6 separate regions of the Homo sapiens genome follow, and all the other regions are linked to region 1. The links are contacts of gene promoters, found by promoter capture Hi-C in human tissues and cell types (Jung and others, 2019). All regions are on one chromosome and are shown on one strand. The core of a region is centred on a gene start or on the middle of the fragment in contact, and the rest is flanking DNA. Distances in the headings are between cores, read along the strand shown.

What was found. Contacts are between HindIII fragments. The study calls those that stand out against the background at their distance.
Region 2: a contact is called between a fragment that was not itself captured here and the fragment with the promoter of SNURF in region 1, in 2 of the 25 tissues and cell types used here (aorta and spleen).
Region 3: a contact is called between a fragment that was not itself captured here and the fragment with the promoter of SNURF in region 1, in 1 of the 25 tissues and cell types used here (dorsolateral prefrontal cortex).
Region 4: a contact is called between a fragment that was not itself captured here and the fragment with the promoter of SNURF in region 1, in 1 of the 25 tissues and cell types used here (lymphoblastoid cells).
Region 5: a contact is called between a fragment that was not itself captured here and the fragment with the promoter of SNURF in region 1, in 1 of the 25 tissues and cell types used here (stomach).
Region 6: a contact is called between a fragment that was not itself captured here and the fragment with the promoter of SNURF in region 1, in 2 of the 25 tissues and cell types used here (H1 embryonic stem cells and spleen).

Annotation. Positions count from the first base shown.
Region 1 is chr15:24,953,160-24,956,792 of GRCh38, reverse strand. It overlaps SNURF (SNRPN upstream open reading frame), which reads right to left and starts at 1,806. Exons shown (of 3, transcript NM_001394334.1): 1 at 1,731-1,806. The coding sequence starts at 1,744. It overlaps SNRPN (small nuclear ribonucleoprotein polypeptide N), which reads right to left and starts at 1,806. Exons shown (of 10, transcript NM_003097.6): 1 at 1,731-1,806. The region is part of intron 4 of SNHG14 (small nucleolar RNA host gene 14); the gene reads right to left. RefSeq lists enhancers at 1-5, 1-259, 276-435, 260-825, 826-1,391. The HindIII fragment of the contact is 13,657 bases long and covers 1-3,633 here.
Region 2 is chr15:25,154,787-25,158,419 of GRCh38, reverse strand. The region is part of intron 61 of SNHG14 (small nucleolar RNA host gene 14); the gene reads right to left. Among named protein-coding and RNA genes, the nearest start is that of SNORD115-1, 14 kb to the left of the region's middle. The HindIII fragment of the contact is 4,828 bases long and covers 1-3,633 here.
Region 3 is chr15:24,763,151-24,766,783 of GRCh38, reverse strand. No RefSeq gene overlaps it. Among named protein-coding and RNA genes, the nearest start is that of SNHG14, 59 kb to the left of the region's middle. The HindIII fragment of the contact is 3,064 bases long and covers 451-3,514 here.
Region 4 is chr15:24,780,190-24,783,822 of GRCh38, reverse strand. No RefSeq gene overlaps it. Among named protein-coding and RNA genes, the nearest start is that of SNHG14, 42 kb to the left of the region's middle. The HindIII fragment of the contact is 6,461 bases long and covers 1-3,633 here.
Region 5 is chr15:25,104,018-25,107,650 of GRCh38, reverse strand. SNHG14 (small nucleolar RNA host gene 14) reads right to left here. Exons shown (of 148, transcript NR_146177.1): 52 at 1,357-1,487; 53 at 63-179. SNORD116-29 (small nucleolar RNA, C/D box 116-29) reads right to left here and starts at 1,131; the gene lies at 1,047-1,131. SNORD116-28 (small nucleolar RNA, C/D box 116-28) reads right to left here and starts at 3,010; the gene lies at 2,918-3,010. The HindIII fragment of the contact is 6,332 bases long and covers 1-3,633 here.
Region 6 is chr15:24,804,886-24,808,518 of GRCh38, reverse strand. No RefSeq gene overlaps it. Among named protein-coding and RNA genes, the nearest start is that of SNHG14, 17 kb to the left of the region's middle. The HindIII fragment of the contact is 8,494 bases long and covers 1-3,633 here.

The DNA of each region.
Region 1 (3,633 bases), core at 557-3,056:
CCCTCCAGTCCTCTACTGCTGCACCGTGGGTAAGGGGTGGCTGCCAAGCTTGCTAGGCGGAGCCTGCGCCAACCCATCTCCCTCCTCCCCCCTCTACTGCGCCACAACCGGAAAGGAACAGCTGCTGTATCAGCCAGGTGAAGGGGAGGGCTGCCATTCCTTCCAGGCAAAAGCTGCGTAAGCCCTCGCTCCCCTGCCCCACGTCTCGCCCCACTGCAAGCGGAGGCGACTGTCACCTCTGCTGCGTCTGCGCAACCTGCATCCTTTCCCAAGCAGCACTTTGGGGAGGGGGCAGCCGCCCACCTTGGCCGGCTTCCTCTCCTTACCACTGCACCCTAAAGAGGGTACGGCTGAAACTCCGAAACAGCAGAAGCTGAACACACACCACCTGCCCCCTCCCCACTGGCGGCTCTACAGGGAGGAAGCGGCCACCCCCCCGCTGAAGCGCTTGCGCAGATCTAAGCCGCTGCAGCGGCGGCCATCTTGAAGGAGCTGCACAATGGCAGTGACGCAACACAGACCCCCAGGTTATTTCGACATAGCCTTCCAAGACCTGGTTCCCAACAGAGAGAAACAATGAAAAAAAAGTAACCCCCAGGCATCACCTGGCCTATCAGTCAAAAGATCTGTAAATGCAAGTTCTGCACATCATTCCAGTCTTCTTATGCCATAGCCTCTAAAGCGAGGGTTCCTAAAGGGTACGCAAGGATTCCACGCATTTCTGCAGCCCCTGCGGCAGTGTAGGCATTGCGCAGTTTTAATAAAAAAGCACCACCACCACAGTAGGCAAACCAGATGACCATCGCAGGTCACAGGAAAATTAAAGGCTGCGGACTGTGCTACTGCCCCTTCTGATGCCCCCTCCTCTACACAGCAATCATTCAGCGTCCCTTAGTCACTCCGGACAGCGACAGGCCCCGCGGCCGCCATGCCCACCGCCTCCATGCCATGCCCACCGCCGCCATGCCTACCGCCGCCAAAGTCCACCACCGCCATGCCTACCCGCTGCCAATGCCCACCGCCGCCAATACCCACTGTCGCCGCCTTCCCCCTACCTCCCAGCCACTTCCTACGGACTCTCCCCGCGCCGCGACCACCAACACAACCCCCACCACTGTCACACCGACTCATCCCCCTGGTCCACTGCCATAGCCTCCTCGCCTCGGTCACTGCGACGAATTCCCCCCCCAGTCGCCCCACGTACCCTGCTCCACCACGCAGTGGTCACTATTATACACCTACCTGCGCTCAACACCCCCTAAATACCGATCACTTCACGTACCTTCGCCCCGCCACAATCACTCCAATATACCTACCTCCGCCTAAAATCCCTATGCACTGGTCCCCCCACGTACCCTCGCCACACGGAACTGCAATCACCCTGATGTACCCACCTCCACCCATGTCCCTTGCCCACTGCGGTTACCCCGCATGCTCCCAGTCACCACCGCCCTTCCCACCGCAGACACCCGCAATAGGACCTGTCGCGACACCACAGTTGGGGGCGGATGGGGGACGCGCCCCAATGCGAGCGGACAGGATACCATCGGGGCAGAACGGCACAACAGCAAGCCTCTGAACATTCCGGATCTGGTTCTCCAGAACAAAGGACTTTAGGGCCCAAATTCCGTTTATTCAGTACTCCAAGTCCTAAAAACTTGGAATATCTGATGAATAAAAGTGGCCGCTCCCCAGGCTGTCTCTTGAGAGAAGCCACCGGCACAGCTGACCTTGCCCGCTCCATCGCGTCACTGACCGCTCCTCAGACAGATGCGTCAGGCATCTCCGGCGGCCGCTCCACTCTGCGCCAGACTCGCTGCAGCAGCGGCAGGCTTCGCACACATCCCCGCCTGAGCATGCGCGCCAGCCTGCCTCTGCGGCCGCGCAGGCGTGCTTGTTTGCCGCAGTGCAGGGGTCCCAGCTCCCTCCCTCACCGGAATGACCTGGGGGGAGGGGGCTACTGGACCCCTAGGGCCCCACAGCACTGTTGCAATGAGAGGGGGCCTCTAGAAACCATAAGCAACCTGGGATCAATGGACATGTCTACCTGTTTTTTAAAATGTGTAAAATACTAAAGAAATAATTCTTGGTTCTACAATAAATTTTTGCACACACCACTGGCCAAACAATCCTAATTTACACTCACCCTCAGGTCTTCCTATGTGCGGTACAAAAAAGCTGGTTTGGAAAAGTTAAATGCGCCATAACCACAATCAATGCAAATACGCCAGACTTGAAATCCTTCCAAAAGAAAATATCCCTAACTCTAAAAGCATGCTACATTGTTCAAATTTGGTGCGATTTTTCTACCCTTTTTCTACTTTCTACATTTTGAGGGGGTAAATTGTGAAAATTATCTCCCCCAAAATCACAATATAATTAAACTCTCCTATACGGAATGGATAGATCATTCAACTCAAAAACACTGGCTATTCAATTTTTGTAAAACAAAAATATGAACTTAGACCCCCACCTAAGATCTAAGTAGGAGAGCCTTTCTTTGCCTATTAGAATTGGATACATTAAAATTTTTACCAATAATCAATGATAGCTGGAGTGGGGAGAAACAGGCACTTTTATATAATACTAATGGACAAGTAAACATTATTTACGACATAATATTCTATCTGCAGAAATAACGGAAGCATCAGTAACTCCAAAATTTAGACGCTGATGTAGCTTGGGAAAAGACACTGCAGAAAAGAAGAAAATAATCCTGAAACTGCATCTGCATAGTTTTTACACACATTTGCCCTTTCTCAATTGCCCATTATCGAAGAAGGGAGGGTGATGTGAGTGGAGGTTGACTAAATGGTTAAATCCCCTCCCAAGCCCTGTAAGCTACTGCTCAGTTCCCAATGATCCTACATTAAAACAGGTGCGCAGAGGCTTATCAATGCTGACTTCTATCGTAACAAAATCTCAGAAACTGTGTAATGTTCCTCACAGAGAACAGATAGGCTAACTAAATAAACGTATATATAAATAATAACATGCAATATGGCTGATGGAAAAAATGATGTATTAGGCTGAATCATATAAAATTGTCAATATTGAATTGTTTTGACCTACAAAAACATTGCAATTTCTAATAGTTCATTGATACATATTCACATAAAATAACATGGGAAGTTGACTCTGATCACGGGAGTCAATCGAAAAATAAAATGTAGGCTGGGCACAGTGGCTTACGCCTGTATTCCCAGCACTTTGGGAGGCCGAGGTGGGCAGATCACGAGGTCAGGAGATCGAGACCATCCTGGCCAACATGGTGAAACCCATCTCTACAAAAAACAGAAAAATTAGCTGGGCGTGATGGCACATGCCTGTAATCTTAGCTACTCGGGAGGCTGAGGCAGGAGAATTGCTTGAACGTGGGAGGCGGAGGTTGCAGTGAGCTGAGATCACACCACTGCACTCCAGCCTGGTGACAGGGCAAGACTCCATCTCAAAAAAATAAATAAAATAAAAGCATACTGTATGTTCAGTTTTACACTGAAAAAATTATGAAAGAATACACACCATTATAGTCCAGTGATGAAAACCATGCCTTTGGACTCAGGCTCTTTTGATTCAAATTCTAGCTTTGACTCTTGACCACAATGTTACTTTGAGCAAGTTATCTAACCCTCT
Region 2 (3,633 bases), core at 770-3,269, 200 kb before region 1:
AGATATAATTTCTAAGAATTATGGCAATGAACCACTAAAATCAGGTTAACATAAAATAAGGAATTGCTCAATTGGAAGGAAACAGAGATGGATGAAAATAAGTTCCCCGCCCACAAATATAATTTCTATTTTAATGGAGTTAAGAATATGTGAATCTAGGTAATATGACATCATAGAGATGATACCAATAATCACAAAATTTCTCATCTTTCAGTCAAAGCAAAGCTCAAGTATAAAATTAAGTTCTTCTCATGATGATCTTATCATCTATGTGGATCACACATGGAGAAGAATCAGTCACAATACTATCCACGTTCCTTGAGAGAATATGTGCATATTTTAAGGTTTACTTATCCTTCAACTCCTCCTGGGCACTTTGTTTTCAATTTTTGCTATTAGATATGGCACCATGATAAGCATTCATGTATACATATTTTGGGTCAATCATGCATGAATTTTTGTTAACCATATACCTGAGAGTATGTTGCCTCCATTCAACTTCAGTGAATACTAAGAGAATTCTAAAAAACACACACTTTCAAATTTTAAACAGATGATCCTTGATTTATGAAGGAGTTACCTCCTAATAAACCTACTATAAGTTAAAAACACTGTAAATAAAAAATGCTTTTAGTACACCTAATGTACTGAACATCATAGCTTTGCCTAGCCTACCTTAAATGTGCTCAGAACACTTACATTAGCCTACAGTGGGTCAAAATGGTGGCAGCACAGTACGCGATGAAGTATTGGTTGTTTACCTTCATAACTGCATGACTGCTAGGAGCTATGGCTCACTGCTGCTGCCTAGCCTCACTAGAGTATCATACTGCCAGTGGCTAGCCCGGGAAATGAAAATTCAAAATCCAAGGTATGGTTTCTACTGAATGCATACCACTTTCACAACATCATAAAGTGGAAAAATCATAAATCAAACCATTATAAATTGGGGACTGTCTAGATATACTGGAAGATGTTTATCTGATTGTTGTCTGAATTATTTTTCTCATGGCTAATGACCTTGAATACCTTTTCATAGGCTTATTGGCCATTCAGATATCCTCTTTTGTGAAGTACCCATTTAAGTGTTTTCTAACTTTTTGACATGTACAAGTTGTATCTTTTATACGATGCTTCTTCACTGATTATATACTTTGAGAAATAAAAATTTTAATTTGGATGCAGACTAATTCATCAATATTTTCCTTTATGCTTAGTGTTATTGGTATTTTTCACTTTCTGCCAAATTATGATGACACCCTCCTATGTTATGCTATGCTCAAGAAGCTTTACTGTTTTGCCTTTCATGAATAGACCAACATTACACCTAGAAATGATGGATCTGTATGGTTTGAAAAGGAATTCACTTTTTTATGTATTGATATCCAGCACTAACTATTGAACAAACCATTCTTTCCTCATCATGCAGGAGTGGCACTTTTATCATAAAGCAAGTAATCATATATCTATTGATCTGCTTGTGGAGTGGAGTCTCTATTTTGCTCCATTAGGCTAGTTTTCTGTCTTTTGTCAGTAACTGTAACCTTGCAATAGTAGGCCTTAAATTTTGGCCATGTAACTCATGCAAAATTGTCATCTTCATCAAGACTATCTTGGCTCTTCTTGACTTTTTGTGTCATATATAATTCTTGAAATTAGATTGAACATTTAATAAATGGCATTCAGATTTAGAATGCTCTTACGTTGGGATCTTTAAGTGAATTTGGGGGAGAATTAACATGTATAGTATATGTAATTGAATTTGCCACTGTGAATATATTATATCCCTCCATTTGTAAGGTATTACTTGCTTCCTTTCCATAATGTTTCATAATATTTTGTGTGAATTTTTTCCTATGGAATTGATGTTTCTGATGTTCCCAAAAATGTTATCTTTTAAAAACTTCATTTTTCATTTGTCATTTTACATAGAAATACATTTTAGTTATCTGCTTTTTAACCCAGCAATCTTGCTCAATTAACTTCCTAATTTTAATTGATCATGTTCAGACTTGTTTCTTGTCAGTAAATAATGAAACTTATACCTTTCCATTTCCAATCCTTATTCTATGACTCTACTCCCCTAGTTAGGACATCCAGTATAGTAATGAATAGAAATGATGAAAAAAAATCCTCTTTTATTCCCAATCTCATAAAAAAGCTTTCTCTATCTCCACTGTCAATAATTTTACAATTAATTTATTTTGTAAATACCCTTTATCTCATTAAATTTTTTTCAATTTTTAGTTCCCATAAATTCGTAGTTCCAATAAAGAGATTTATAAAGAATAGTTTTTATATTTTATCAAATGCTTTTTCTCTTTTGAGATGATCATATAACTTTTCTTCTCTCTTATGTTACCATAGTGATTTACATTGAGTGATTTTGAATTCATTTTTGAAGTAAACATTTGAAGATTTTTTAAAAAGTGAAGCTGAAACAGAGTTCCCAAATACCCTATACCCAGTTTCCCCTCCTGTTAACATCTTGTATTAATATGGCACATTTGTCACACTCAACGAACCAATATTGATAGATTATTATTAACTAAAGCCCACTTTATTCAGATTTCCATAGTTTTACATAATGTACTATTACTCTTCTAGGATCCCATATAGGATGCCATATTCCATTTAGTTGTCTTGTCTATTTAGGCTCTTCTTGACTGTCACACTTTCTCAAGCTTTCCTTTTTGAGGACCTTCACAGTTTTGAGCAAAACTAGTCAAGTATTTTGTAGAGTATATCTCATGTGGGATTTGTTTGATGATTTTTCTCATAATGATACTGATCTTATGGGTTTTTGGGAGGAAGACTGTAGAGGTAAAGTGCAATTTTTATCACGTCATATCAAAGGTATATACTATCAGCATGATTTATCACTACTGATGTTAACCTTGATTACCATGTAGAGATAGTGCTTGTCAGGTTTCTCCCCTGCACAGTTACTCTTCCCTTCCATCCCCCATTTCCACCCTGTACTCTTTGAAAGAAAGTCACCAATGTGCCTAATGACTTTCTTCCCACACTTGACGAGTAAGGAGTTCAACCTCCTTAAGGGCAAAAGTATCTATAAAAACTATATGAAATTATTCTGCACAAAAAATCTATGTTCTCCCCAGTTTATTTATTCATTTGATTATTTACATCAATATGGATTCATGGATATTTTATACTTTGGGTTGTAATCTAATATTATGCTATTTATTTTTAAAAATTTGTTCCAGATTTGACCACTGGAAGCTCTTTTGGTTGGTTCCTGAGTCCCTTTGATATACTTTCATCAATGTGGGGTTCTTGTTTTAGTACTTCCTTACTCTCTGGCACTATATGATGCTCCAGGCTCATCTTGTACATTTCCTAACCAGTCTTAGAATCAGCCATTTCTACAAGGATCCCTGATTTGTTCTATTGGAGAATGGTATTAGAAACTAAGGGCTGGGTTCTAGGTGTGCCCATTGTTACTAGAGTGTCATTGCTTCTAAGCATTCTCAGTTGACACAGGGTGTGTACAATAACTATGTAAATACATGCATCTATATTTCTATGTGTAACCATCTGTCTGCATATTAAACTAAACATAAGTTTACACTGACGTTTCCAACTCTAATCCATTACAACACAAATCATTCT
Region 3 (3,633 bases), core at 733-3,232, 190 kb after region 1:
GTGTGATTAATTCCCAAATTACTTTCATCTTGCAAAATTGACACTCTATACTCACTAAAGAGTAACTCCCCATTCCTCCCTCCTGTGCTCTTGGCAACCACCATATTACTTTCTGTCTCTATGAATTTGACTACCCTAGGTAGTTTGTATAAGTGGAATCATACAGAATTTGTCTTTTTGTGACTGGTTTAATTCACTTACCATAATATCCTCGAGGTTTATTCATTGAGCATTATCTATCAGAATGTCCTTCCTTGTATGCCTGAATAGTAGTCCATTGTATGTAGACAGGTTAAGTATCCCTAATCCAAAAAAGCAAAATTTGAAATGCTCAAAAATTTGATACTTTTTGAGTGCCAGCATGATGCTCTAAGAAAATGCCCATTGGAGCATTTTGAATTTTGGATATTTAGGGATTAGGGATGTTCATCCTCTACATGTGATGCAAATATTCCAAAATCCAAAATCTAAAATATTCCTAGTCCCAGGCATTTTGGATACAGGATACTTAACCTGTACCACATTTTGTTCATCTATTCATCTGTCAGTGGATACATGAATTGCTTCCATGTTTTGGCTAATGTGAATAATGCTGCTATAAACATGAGTGCACAAATATCTCTTCAAGACTCTGCTTTCAATTCTTTCAGGTACATGCCCAGAAATTAAATTTCTGGATTATATGGTAATACAATTTTTAACTTGTTGAGGAACTACCAAATGGCTTTCTCTAGAGGGTATACCATTTTGTCTCCCCACCAACAGTGTACAGGGATTCCAATTTCTCCACATCCTCACCAACATTTTTTGTTTTCTGGATTTCACAGTTTTTTTTTGTATAGTAATCATCCAAATTGGTTTGAGGTGATATCTCATTGTGCATTTGATTTGCATTTCCCTGATAACCATGATATTCAGCATCCTTCCATGTGCTTATTGGCCATGTATGTATCTTCTTTGGAGAAATGTCTATTCAAGTCCTTTACCCATTTTTTAAAATCAGTTTTTTTAATGTTGAGTTGTAGTCGTTTACATGTTCTGAATATGAACTCCTTATCAGATATAGGATTTGCAAATATTTTCTCCCATTCTGTATACTGCCTTTTTAGTGTATGGATTGTGTTCTCTGATACACAGAAGGTTTTAATTTTGATACATTTCAATTTATAAATTTTTACTTTTGTTTCCTATGCTTTTGGTGGCATATCCAGTAAATCACTGCTAAGTCTGATAGTAATAAACTTTTCACCTATGTTTTCTTCAAAGAGTTTTAGACTTTTAGCTCTTATATTTAGGTTTCGATCCATTTTGAATTTTTAAAATATACAGTATAAGGTAAGGCTCCAAATTCATTCTTTTGTGTGGGGATACCCAATTTTCCCTACATCATTTGTTGAAAAAACGATCTTTCCTCAGTTGAATGGCCTTGACATCTTTACAAAAAATCCTTTGACTACATATGTGAAGGCTTATTTCTGGGCTCTCTGTTCTATTAGTCTATATATCTGTCTTTATGCCAGCACCTCACCGTTTTGATTTCTGTAGCTTTGTAATAAGTTTTGAAATCAAGAAGTATGAGACCTTCAATATTGTTCTTTTTAAAGATTACTTTGAGTATTCAGAGTCCATTGAGATTCTGTATGAATTTTGGGATCCAATATAATCTTTGATAGTGACAGAGTTTCACTTCTTGGTCAAACTCTAGCTAGGCTCTTCTGAGCCCTCTTCTGGACTAGACTTTAACTGTGACCTACAAATAAGAACTGCAGACTCCCCGTATAAATTATTTCATTCAACCCCTCTCCTACCACATTAAAAGACTTAGCCAAACACTAAAACAGTTTCTACTAGCGCAAGGTCGTTAACCGCAGTATGAGTCAAGGCTGCCAAAAAAATTTACTTTTTGTTCCAGCCAACACCTGAGAATAGGCCCCTGGCCACACTTTCTTAGAACAATTATTAAAAAGCTTACCATTTTGAATCCTTCCTCTGTCCCTTTGAGATACATATGTTTCCCTTTCAACTCAAGAGAGCCTTTCTCAAAGACCTGAAAGTCATTGCTTTGAAATGTTATCACTGGGAAGGATAGGGCTTCTGTCTCCTATTCTCTGTGGAAAGATAGAATCCTAACCTCAATAACTGCCAGCTAGCAGACACAGCTGGCCTAAGCACAGTTACGCTTAACCAGCCTTTGTGGTTTTTCACTTTCCTGACTCTGTAACCACCTGAAGGGTTCTTGTTGCCCGGTGAATAAAGACGGACCAAGGCATTATAGTAGAGAAAGAGTTTAATAGACACAGGGCTGGCCACACCACATGGGAGATAGGGTTTATACCCAAATCATCTCACCTGAATTGCATAGATTAGGGTTTTTTAAAAGCAATTTGGGGGAAGAGGTGGGGGTGGTCAGGTAACATGTGCTTGCTGCTGATTAGTTGGGGTGGAGATGAAATCATAGTGGGGGTCGAGGCTGTTCTCCTGAGGGCCAAATCGCTTCTGGTGGGGCCTTAGGCGTGGGTGGGACTGGCAGTCCAGGTGGAACCGTCAGGTTTAGGTGGAGCCATAGGTGTCAGACTTGTAAAAAACCTGGAAAGATATCTCAAAAGGCCAATCTACAATAGTGGTGTTATTTGCAGGAGTAATTGGGGAAGTTGCATGTCTTATAACCTACGGATAATGTCTGCACCTTAGCAGGACCCAGGCGCCTCTCCTCCCCACATCCTGATAAGCCTCCCATTAGCTTTACAAAAGCAGTTGAGTTTTAGGGAAGGCCTATTATCTTTTACACTGTAGCCTAAATTTCTTACAAAGTTAGCTCAGCCCAACAGCCCAGAAATAATTAAGGGAAAGGCAAGAAAGGGGGTGGGTTAGTTTAGTTTACTGTTACATTTTTTCTCACTGACATAATATTTGCAAAGGCAGTTTCAACTCTAGTAAGGCCCTGCTCATCCCTCTCCCCTACCCCACTCCCTCATTCTTCCTTTAAAAAGCCCACTTTCCATTGTGCAATTCAAAGTTGAGTTCAGTTTACTCTGGATCCTCCCCGCTATTACAATAGTCATTACGAATTAAAATCTGTCCTTATCACTTTAGTGTCTGGTTTTGTTTTCTTTAACAATACCACAGAACCTAAGTGTCCATCAATAGATGAATGGAAAAAGAAAATGTGGTACATATACACAATGGACTACTATTCAGCTATAAAAAATAATGAGATCCCATTATTTGCAACAGCATGGATGGAGCTAAAGATAGTTATGTTAAGTGGAATAAGCCAGGCACAGAAAGGCAAACTTCCTATGTTCTTATTTGTAGAAGCTAAAAACAAAACAACTGAACTCATGGACATAGAGAGTAGATGACTGGTTAGTTACCAGAGGCTGGGAAGGGCAGTGGGAGGCTAGAAAGGAGGTGGGGTAATTAATAGGCCCAAGAAATAGAAAGAATGAATAAGATCTAGTATTTGATAGCACAAAAGAATGAATAAGGTCTAGCATTTGATAGCACAAAAGAATGAATAAGGTCTAGCATTTGATAGCACAATAGGTGACTATAGTCAATAACAACTTAATTGTGCATGTAAAAATAACTAAAAGAATGTAATTGAATTATTTGTAATGCAAAGGATAAATG
Region 4 (3,633 bases), core at 315-2,814, 170 kb after region 1:
GATGCACCTGAATTTAGAATTGTGAATAGATAAGGAAGATGCTTTCCTATTCTCTCCCTATGTATATGACCATCATCCAATGAATCATCATTACCTGATGGAGGTTATTTGTTTATGTCTGTGTAGTTTTTTTTTGGTACCAAAACAACACTTTTAAAATAAGATTTTAATTGTGAAATGCTTAAAAAATATACAAGACTCAAACTACTTTGTTGGGAACAGACCCCCAAATCTGGCCATAAACTGGCCCCAAAACTGGCCATAAACAAAATCTCTGCAGCACTGTGACATGTTTGTGATGGCCATGATGCCCACGCTGAAGGTTGTGGGTTTACCGGGATGAGGGCAAGGAACACCTGGTCCACCCAGGGCGGAAAACCGCTTAAAGGCATTCCTAAATCACAAACAATGGCATGAGTGATCTGTGCCTTAAGGACATGTTCCTGCTGCAGATAACTAGCCAGACCCATCCCTTCCTTTTGGCCCATCCCTTTGTTTCCCATGGGGGAATACTTTTAGTAAATCTATAATCTATAGAAACAATGCTTATCACTGGCTTGCTGTCAATAAATATGTGGGTAAGTCTCTGTTCGGGGCTCTCAGCTCTGAAGGCTGTGAGACCCCTGATTTCCCACTCCACACCCTACATTTCTGTGTGTGTGTCTTTAATTCCTCTAGTGCCACAGGATTATGGTCTCCACGACCGAGCTGGTCTCAGCACTACTTAATTACAAGAGTATAAGTAACAACATAAAAAATGGGCAAAGGACTTCAAAATAAGACATACAACTGTCCAACAGACATATGAAAAAATTCTTCAACATTTGTAATCATCAGAGAAGTGTAAATTAAAATCATAATGAGATATTGGCTCACACCTGCTACTTTGGCTATTGTCAGGATGATGAAATATAACAAATGTTGGTGAGGAAATGAAAAAAGACAAACTTTGTACATTGTAGGTGGGAATGTCAATTAGTACAGATATTTTAGAAAATACTATGGAAGTGTCACAAGAAATTAAAAATAGAATTACTATATGATATAGCAATCTCTCTCCAGGGTATATGCCAAAAAAATTGGAATCACTATGTTGAAGAGATGTCTTTACTCTCATGTTCATTTCAGCATTATTTACATTAGCCAAGATTTGGAAACAATTTAAGAGCTCATTAATGGATAAATGGATTAACAAAAATGTGGTACATATACACAATGTGATACCATTCAGCCTTAAAAATATAGGAAATTCTGTCATTTGCAACAACTTGGATGAACCTACAGTACATTATGCTAGGTAAAATAGGCTAGACACAGAGGGACGATTACCATATGATCTCAATTATATGTGGAATCTTAGAAGTCAAACTCATAGAAGTGGAGAATCATATGGTGGTTACCACAGGTTGTTATGAAGGGGTGGTTGGGGAAGGAGAGACATTGGTCAAAGGGTTTGAAGTTTCTATTAGACAGGAGGAATAATGTCTGGTGATTTATTTCACAGCATGGTGAATATAGATAATAAGAATGTGTTGTATATTTCCCAAAACAGCTAAAAGAGATGATTTTAAATGTTCTCACCACAAAGAAATAATAAATATTTGAGGTAATGGATATGATGATTAGCCTAATTTGACCATTCCACAATGTATACATATAACAAAACACCACAATTAACCCCATGAGTAAGAGTACATACACTTATTATCTGACAATTAAAAATAACAATTAATTTTAGATTACTGAAAGGTATAAGGAGAATATAAAGAGTTTTGTATACCATTCAGCTTCTTGCAATCTTAACATCTTAAATAGCCATAACATATTTGTGAAAACAAATAAAATTGAATGTGGTAAAAACCATTAACTGAAATACAGACTGTCTTTATACTTTACCCGATTTTACATTAATGTCACTTTTTCTGTCAATGATTCATTCCAGATGCCACAGTACATTAACTGTCAGGTTTATTACTTATTTATTGCTGTATAACTCATTTATACAGCAAAGTGCCTCAAAACCACACACACACATATTACTCACTGTTTCTTTAGGGCATGAATCCTGGTGTAGATGATGTCTAGGCTGAAGTCTCAGCTGAAGGTTCAGCTGGGGAGGAATCATCTTCCAAGCTCACAGATTGTTGTTAGGATTCAATTACATGCCCAGGGTGAGATTACTTCACTAGTAAATTATACCAAAACTTTAAAGAATTTATAACAATCCTTCACTAACTCCTCTCCCAAGAGAAGAAGAAAACAAACAAAGGAACGAAAACCAAAAAGGAAAAAGAGAGCACTTCCCAATGCATTTTATGAAGTCAGTTAACCTGATACTACAACTGGAAAAAGACATTGTAAGAAAGGAAAATTAGAGACCAACATGCCTTATAAATACGAGAATCCTCAAGGAAAAACTATCAAAACACAAAAGCACCGTAGACAAAGGATATACACTATGACCAAGGGTATTTATTCCAGCATTGCAAGTTTGGATAAACATACAAAAACAATTAGTAAAATATACTATCTAAATAGTATAAAGAGTAAAAACACATGATCACTTAAGATGAAGAATAAGCATTTGACTAATTAAAACCCCATTTATGATTGGAGCATTTATGAAAACATTGAGCAAATGAAGCATAGAAGGGAACTTTGCCTATAAAGAGCATCAATTAAAAATTCACATAGAAACATACAATGTCATGGAAGCCTCAGTAATTTCTCCAGGATTAGAAATAAGACACTGAGGTCCACTCTTGCCACTTCTATTCAACAGAGTATTGGAGGATGTAGCCAGGACAATTAGGCTACAAAAAATGTAAGACATTCACAATAGAAAGGAAGAAGTTAAACCATCTTTGTTTGCAAATGACATAATCCTGTGTATAGAAAATCCTAAGGAATTCAGTAAAGTAAGATTAGAATCTAAAAACAAGTTCAGTAACTTTGCAGTATACAAAGGTGGTTCAGGCCTGTAATCCCAGCGCTTTGGGAGGCCGAGGCAGGTGGATCGCCTGAGGTCAGGAGTTTTGAGACCAGCCTGGCCAACATGGTGAAACCCTGTCTCTACTAAAAATACAAAAATTAGCTGGGCATAGTGGTGGGCACCTGTAATCCCAGCTACTCAGGAGGCTGAGGCAGGTGAATCGCTTGAACCCAGGAGGTGGAGGTTGCAGTGAGCCAAGATCAGGCCATTGCACTCCAGCCTGAGCGACAGAGTGAGATACCATCTAAAAAAAAAAATCAATTCTATTTCTGGCCAGGCATGATGGCTCACACCTGTAGTTCTGGTACTTTGGGAGGCTAAGGCAGGAGGATCGCTTGAGGCCAGGAATTCAAGAAAAGCCTGGGCAACCTGGTGAGACCTTGTCTCTACAAAAAAATTCAAAAAATTAGCTACGCTTAGTGGCATGCACCTGTAGCCCCACCTACTCAGGAGGCTGAGGCAGGGGAATCACTTGAGCCTGAGAGCAGGAGCCTGGAGTGAGCGATGACCAGCAATTCTGTTTCTATATACTAGCAATTAATCTAAAAATGAAAGTCAGAGGCTGGTCGGGGTGGCCCACACCTGTAATCACAGCACTTTGGGAGGCTAATTCGGGCAGATTGTTTGAGGTCTGGAGTTCG
Region 5 (3,633 bases), core at 291-2,790, 150 kb before region 1:
GACTACAGAAAAAATTACAAAATAAGCCATAAAAAGTAAATTTATTCAAACTTGGATGTTACCTTTGGAGTGCGTCCTTTTGTTCTGCCCCCAGGGAATGAAACAGGTAAGAGTGACAAGATCAGCATTTCTTTGGGATGGCAGTGAGAATTCCATGCAATTCCAAAATCACTTCCGTTCTGCAAGGCACAGGGGACATTACAGGAGTTTTGAAACAAAACCTTCCCAACTGAATGATTCCTGACAACAGTTTGTAATTAATTAGCCATAGTCACTTGACTATCCACATAACTAAAAAATCTGCTTGTTGCTTGGAACAGGGTAAGTACAGAAAATCAATGTTTCCAAGATTTTGGTCTCGAAGGCCAAAGGCCCCGAGTATTACTAAAATTAGAATCTCTCTTAAAATATACAAAGACTCAATGAAGGAATATTCCTATTAGCCAACAATATCCATCTAAAATCCCTAGAATTAGAAATTTCATTATTTCACATTAAAATGTTTAATGAAGCATCTAATTTAATCTATCATCTAATGCTTAGAAAATTGCTCCCTGAGTGACAGGAAAAAGAAAAACAAATGCTGTTCTAATCCTTGAGACTGAGTTAGGAAGCAAATTCCAGCATGTAATAAGATAATCCCATGAATACAACCCACTCTTCAATTTTCACATATTTCTTTTAGTGAAAGAATAAATAGCAAGCAAAGACTGATAATTTCTTTCTAATTGACTACATAATATACCTATACATGCTGATACTCACTAAGAATGTTGTGGCGTCTACGAAAATAGTGTGAATGACTCGAGTGCTGGCACAGCCATTTCTACAGTGTTCACTCCTCTGACGCTGGTACCCCAAAGCCTGATTACTAGGTGTTTGAAGGCTGTCAGCCATGCACTTAAATCATTGTCATGTAATTCCCGAAGATATATAGGCCTCTGTACAATTCATCTGCTCTAACATATGCAAGTGGGTTCGTTTTGGTACCAGTTCCTGACCAAACTGAACGCCCTCCACGGGTTTGCCTGGTATGGTCCCTGTGCTGGACCTCAGCTCACAGAAGTGTCTTGGTCACTCATTTTGTTCAGATTTCCAAGGTTTCCATTTTTTTAAGTCATCATCGATCCAGGCACACTTATAAAAGGGACCTTAAGCCTGAGATATGTGGCAGACACTGAACACTGATCTTTCTGTCACCTGGGGACTTGCCAACCCACAGTATTCAATTACAAAGACCAGCATCACAGCCAGTGACCAGTCTCATGACTGACAAGCACAGCCAGGGTCTCATTGTCATTGGAGTGTCATGACCCCCTAAGAAGAATGTTGGTGCTTTCAAGACAAAATGCTTACCAATATTTGAATTCCCCCTGGCCCTTGAGAATGGGAGGGCAGAATTATTTCCATTACTTTCCTTCATGTCACACCTCAAGTAGAAGGAATAAACTCTTTTATATGAAATCTAGTTTTTGGTCCACATTAACCTTTGAAAATAGGAAAAAATTATAGAAAAATAAAAAGTGCAAATGTAATTTGCCAACCATGCAAATAGTGTACATATACAACAGGCTTACTATGCACAAGTATATAAAATATACTAAATTATTTTGCTAGTAGGGTATCCTAATGTTATTTGAAAACAGAGGAAGTATAAAAATACTGTACAAAGAACACAGAAACTTCAGATGACTAACCAGATTATTAGGGCCTCACACCATTTGGATTAACAGACTGCTTGAAAAACCAATTATAATCTTACTTGCTAAAATAAAATAATAGAACGAACCCAGGAAAAATGCACTTACTAAAAATTGCAATATTACCTCTGAAGTGTATTGTTCTCATTGCCAGACAACGAATCTGGTACACGTGACAAAATCAGCAGGTTACTGGAGCAGCAGTAGGAATTCCATGCAATTCCAGTATTACCTCCAATACACAAAGCACACTGAGGAAGTAGGAAGTCGACAAATGAAACCCTCATAATTAAAAGAGTTTCATTTGTCAACTTTCTTACTTTCATAATTACTAATGACGAGTTATAAGAAATAAACCATAGATATTCACTTGCCCATGTGGTATGAGAATAAAAATTATGCTCACTCCCTGGAAATGGGTAGTACTGAAAGTCAGTTTTCTAAGACCAAAAGGCCTCCCTTAGTATCACACAATAAAACTAGGATCTCCCTTTAAACATCTATGAAACCCACTAATAAAAATAATGAATATCAGGCAATGAAATCCACATAAAACTCTATGAATTGCAAATTTAATCATTTTACAATTAGAAATGTTTACTATAGCATCTACTAGAATCCCTTAATCAAATGTCTAAAAAGCTTCTCTTTGAGTGACAGGCAAAACTTAAATTCCAACTTCTGTGACAAGATCAATAAGGAAATTAAAATGTTAAGACTTTCCACAAATAGAAAGTACCCTTCAATTTCCATACATTCTTTTCTTTAATAGATAAAAGCTACTCTTCAATTTCCATATATTTCTTTTACTTAATAGATAAATAATATGTAAAACCTCATAATACCTTTTACACTGTCCATCTAATGAACCTGAGAGACTGACCTCACACACAAGATTATAGCACCTAAAAACATGTATAAAAGACTCTAGGGTAGGCAAAACCATTTCCTACTGTTCCCTCTACTCTTGTGTAATTCTGTTTACTATGAGAGTATGGACACTGCCAGCCAAACACTGAAAGAAATGCCATATAATCCCCAAAGATATATGTACACAAACATATATAAATATATACAAACACATACAGACCTCTGTACAATTCATGTGCTGTAAGCTATGTGAGTGGGTTTGTTTTCCAATACCACAGGCCATTTTGGTACCAGTTGCTGACCAAACTGAACTCTCTGCACGTGTTTGCCTGGCATGGTCCCTGTGCTTGACCTCAGTTCACAGAACTGCACAGAAGTGGTTTGCTCACTCGTTTTGCTCAGATTCCAACGAGATTCATTTTTAAGTCGTCATCCATCCAGGCACATTTATAAAAGGGACTTTGAACCTGAGATATGTGGCAGACACTGAGCACATAGCTATCTGTCACCAATGACCCACACTATTCAATCATGGAGACCAGCAGCACAATGACCAGCCCATGGCTGCCTGGCATAGCCAGAGTCTCACTGTCATTGGAGTGTCCTGATTCCCTAAGAAAAATTGTTGTTATTTTCAGGACAAAATGCTTTTTAACATGTGAGAATTCCCATGGGGACTTGTGGGTGGGAGGCGGAATTATTCACTATACTTTTCCTTTATGTCTCCACACAGGGAAAAAAATAAATTCATCCGTATGAAGCCCAGTTTCTTGGTCCACCTCATTCTGTGGGAAGAGATTATATACATGGGAATGAGAAGTATACATGTTCATTTTTCAAACTTAAATAAGACAGGAGGATTTACTATGTAACTATATGTAAAGTATAAGAATTTTATTACACTTATAGGATGTTTCTGATGTTAAAGTTGAGAAAAATGTAAAATGTTAAAATAAAAGAAACTGAAGGCTCAGATATCTCATGAGAGTATTGAATGCCTAATACTATTTGTATTAAGTGACTCCTTGCACACCTAATGAAATTCTCAATTACTTAAAAAAAT
Region 6 (3,633 bases), core at 418-2,917, 150 kb after region 1:
CTCAGCAAATCTATTCACATACAAATTATATCAGAAGAGTGTCAAAAGTTTAGCCTAAAATAATAAACATCAGACCAGTTAAATAATCGAAGGATGGGAAAATTATTGACTGAGCCAATGCAAACAAAAATCTAAAAAACTCATAAGCATGAAAACCTTTAAAAATATTTTGCTAGGAGATGACCAAAAAAAAAAAATAAGTAAAGATGGCAATTCCCTTTCTACAAGAATTTGTGCTTCCTGGAGATGTATTTACAGATTTCTTGAGTTACATTTATTATTTTACTGAAAACTGTAAACAGTTTTAGTAGTAACTCACTGAATTGCAAGAAAACTATAGATATTTATATTATGGTCCATGTGTACAAGGAAATTACATGCATACATTTACAACAAGTTAGAAGGAATCAAAGACTTCAGCCATGTCTATAGCTTTTGGATAAAGAGTAACAGTATGATATTTATGCTTGCTCAGTGACAAAATGGCTATTCTTTGCATTCAGAATTGAAGATTCAGTATTCTGCCTGTATAAACTAATGCCTTGTGCATCTTCCACAATTATAACAAACTAAGCCATATAATGAAAACAATCATACCTCCTTTTTCAGCATTTAATTCTGAACAAATTTTGTCCTGTGGCTGTGAAAAAAGTCTCTGTTCTCCTTTTCAACCAGAGGTACTTCAGTGGAAATTCCTGGAAAACACGGAAAAAGGGTGTGTAGCATCTGCTTTTCCCAATAAAAGTCATATTCCTATTCTATTTAGGAAAATTTTATGACTGAAAAGATGAAAATAATTGAAAAGGTTTTATGAAAAATGGGTATAAGTGCATTATTAAATACAATAATGAAATTAATACACAAGACAAAAATATGAATTTGGTTGCAGAAATTGTTATGTGACCAAAACAAATAAAAATTAATACAAAGTGTTGAAAACTGTGTGCCAAAGCAAAAGCAAGAACAAACATTATCAGACAAGGTCTGAAGGGTAATTATCCTTGGTCAGCAAGCTCAGTCATTGTTGAACAAACTCATTCTTTATTAAAAACAGAATGAATACCCAAACAGATCACTTAGGGAGTGTTGGGAGCAGCTGGTTTTGCCCATGCAGGCCTCACAGAGAGCCCTCAGCTCAGCTTTGCCTGCCACAGCCAGGACTTTGATGGGTCATGGTCCAGAGGAGTAAGACCAAGTCCACTGAGGCTCATCCACATGAGCGGGATGCACCCAGGGATGACTCTCCAAGCTCCTGCCAATGTTTCTAAGGATAGAGAAAGCCCAGAGTGGTGGAAGAGAAGGCACAAAATCACATAAAATTCACTGATTTGTTACTGAAAAATAAAGTGGTAGTGAAGTTGGTTGGGGTTGTCTGAGAGTCACAAAGACGTTAGAGACATTAGTGTCAACAGTCATGTTCTGAAGTCTTAAACTCTATTGAAACAAAACAAAACAAAACAAAGTACACCTGGTATTTTTGGTTGGGGTGCAAGGAATGCAGGATCCTACTCTTTCATTTCTTCATTCTAGAACAGCACAGTGATGAAGAGAATGGACTCTGGAGGGAAAATTCTTGTGTAAAATGAAGTCTCTCAGTAACTGAGTTACTTTAGTATTCGCAGAAAAATACAGAAATAAACAAATGAAAAAAGAAAGCTCAAAAAAGGACAAAAGAATATGTAAGAAAAATAGTGTAAAGAAAGATAAATAGGGAATATTGATTTTTCAATATATGTTCCAAAAAATTAAATATCCGTAGGAGAAAATAAAATAGACATTTGATCTCACATTTCAAAATTAATCAATTCCAGATGGATCACTGACCTAGATATATATATATTTTGTGACAGAGCCTCGCTCTGTCACCCAAGCTGGCATGCAGTGGTACAATCTCAGCTCACTGCAACCTCTGCCTCCCAGGATCAAATGATTCTCCTGCCTCAGCCTCCTGAGTATCTGGAATTACAGGTGCACGCCACCATGCCTAATTTTTTTATTTTTAGTAGAGATGGGTTTCACCATGTTGGTCAGGCTGGTCTCGAACTCCTGACCTTATGATCTGCCTACCTTGGCCTCCCAAAGTGCTGGGATTATAGGCGTGAGCCAACGTGCCTGGCCGGACCTAGATATTTTTTTAAAAAAAATTAGTACGGTATTTAGGACCTAATTTAGGAGAATAGCTTCATGACCATGGGGTATATAAGATTTCTGAAACTAGATCTAGAAGGTTCTTATCACAAAATATATCGTAACATAGCTAATGTGAGCAAGGACTCTGGAGACAGACCCAGTCAAGCTCCAGCATCTCCTATTTTTTACTGAAGTGCTTTAGCTAAGATTCAGAACTGGAGCATGGAAGTGATAATATTGCCTACCTCTTGGGATGTTGTGAGGTTTAAAGGAACTAGTAATACATAGAGCACATAGACTAATGCAGGTCTATACTAACAACTAAATTAGAATTTGCTAATACTGACAGCTTTTCCTAAGTAATTACAAGATGCATCATTGGTAAAATGCACCATTATTTTTTTGCCACAAAAAATAAAACCACTGAAAAACTGTGACACAAATATTTATTATCACTTAGAATTTTTATATTATTATTGATTACAATTTTATTGAACTTAAATAAATGTGGAAAAGGGAATCCCTGTGGGTGGGAATGCAAATTAGTACAGCCATTGTGGAAAAAAAAATGAAGGTTTCAAAAAACTAAAAATAGAACTACCATATTATCCAGCTATTCCACTTCTGGGAATATATACACAGGAAGTGAATTCAACATGTTATTTATCTTATATCACTCCTATGAGTACATGAGATGAAAAATTAAAACAGGATACATTAACAGAGATAATCCTAAAATAGCTCTCATGAGATCAAACTCTTCTGAATCACTTCTCAACTCACCGTTTTCATGACTTTCCTCAAATTATCATCACCTGTGCTTATCATAAGCTTTGGCTTTGCCTCATATCTTTAGAGAGTTCTGTATTATCCTCTGTGAGATTATATTTGTAACCTACTGACAGCTACTCTAAAAGTTTTGATGATAATGATATTATCAGAGGGTGACAATAATAGGTTTCTAGACCAACTTCATGCCTGTGCACAAGATGGCAACCGTATCATGCTGTCTGGCCAGTCATTTTCTTACAATACCCATATTAAAACACAACCCTTTGAAAAATGTGGAAGTGTGCACTTTAACATTAATGGAATACACCTTTTCCCACTGTGACCATCCATTTATCAGTGTTAAATCAGGGTGACTCTTCAGCTATATTCTGATTGGTTATTGATGAAATAAGCTTAAGCATATTTTCATGTAAGTTGACCAACTCCATTTTTCTTCTACCTACCTATTATAGATATTAGACTTACTAGTGGACTACTGGAATTCCTATTTTAAGTGTGAAGAGGTAATTTTGTAAACTGTGGCTTAAGAAACCCATCGAGGAACTGGCTGGGTGCAGTGGCATGCATCTGCGGTCCCAACTACTTGGGAGGCTGAGGAGGTAAGGTCACCTGAGCTTGGGAAGTCAAGGCTGCAGTGAACTGTAATTGTGCCACTGAATTCCAGCCTGGGTGACAGAGTGAGACCCTGACTCAAAAAGAAAAGAAAAGAAA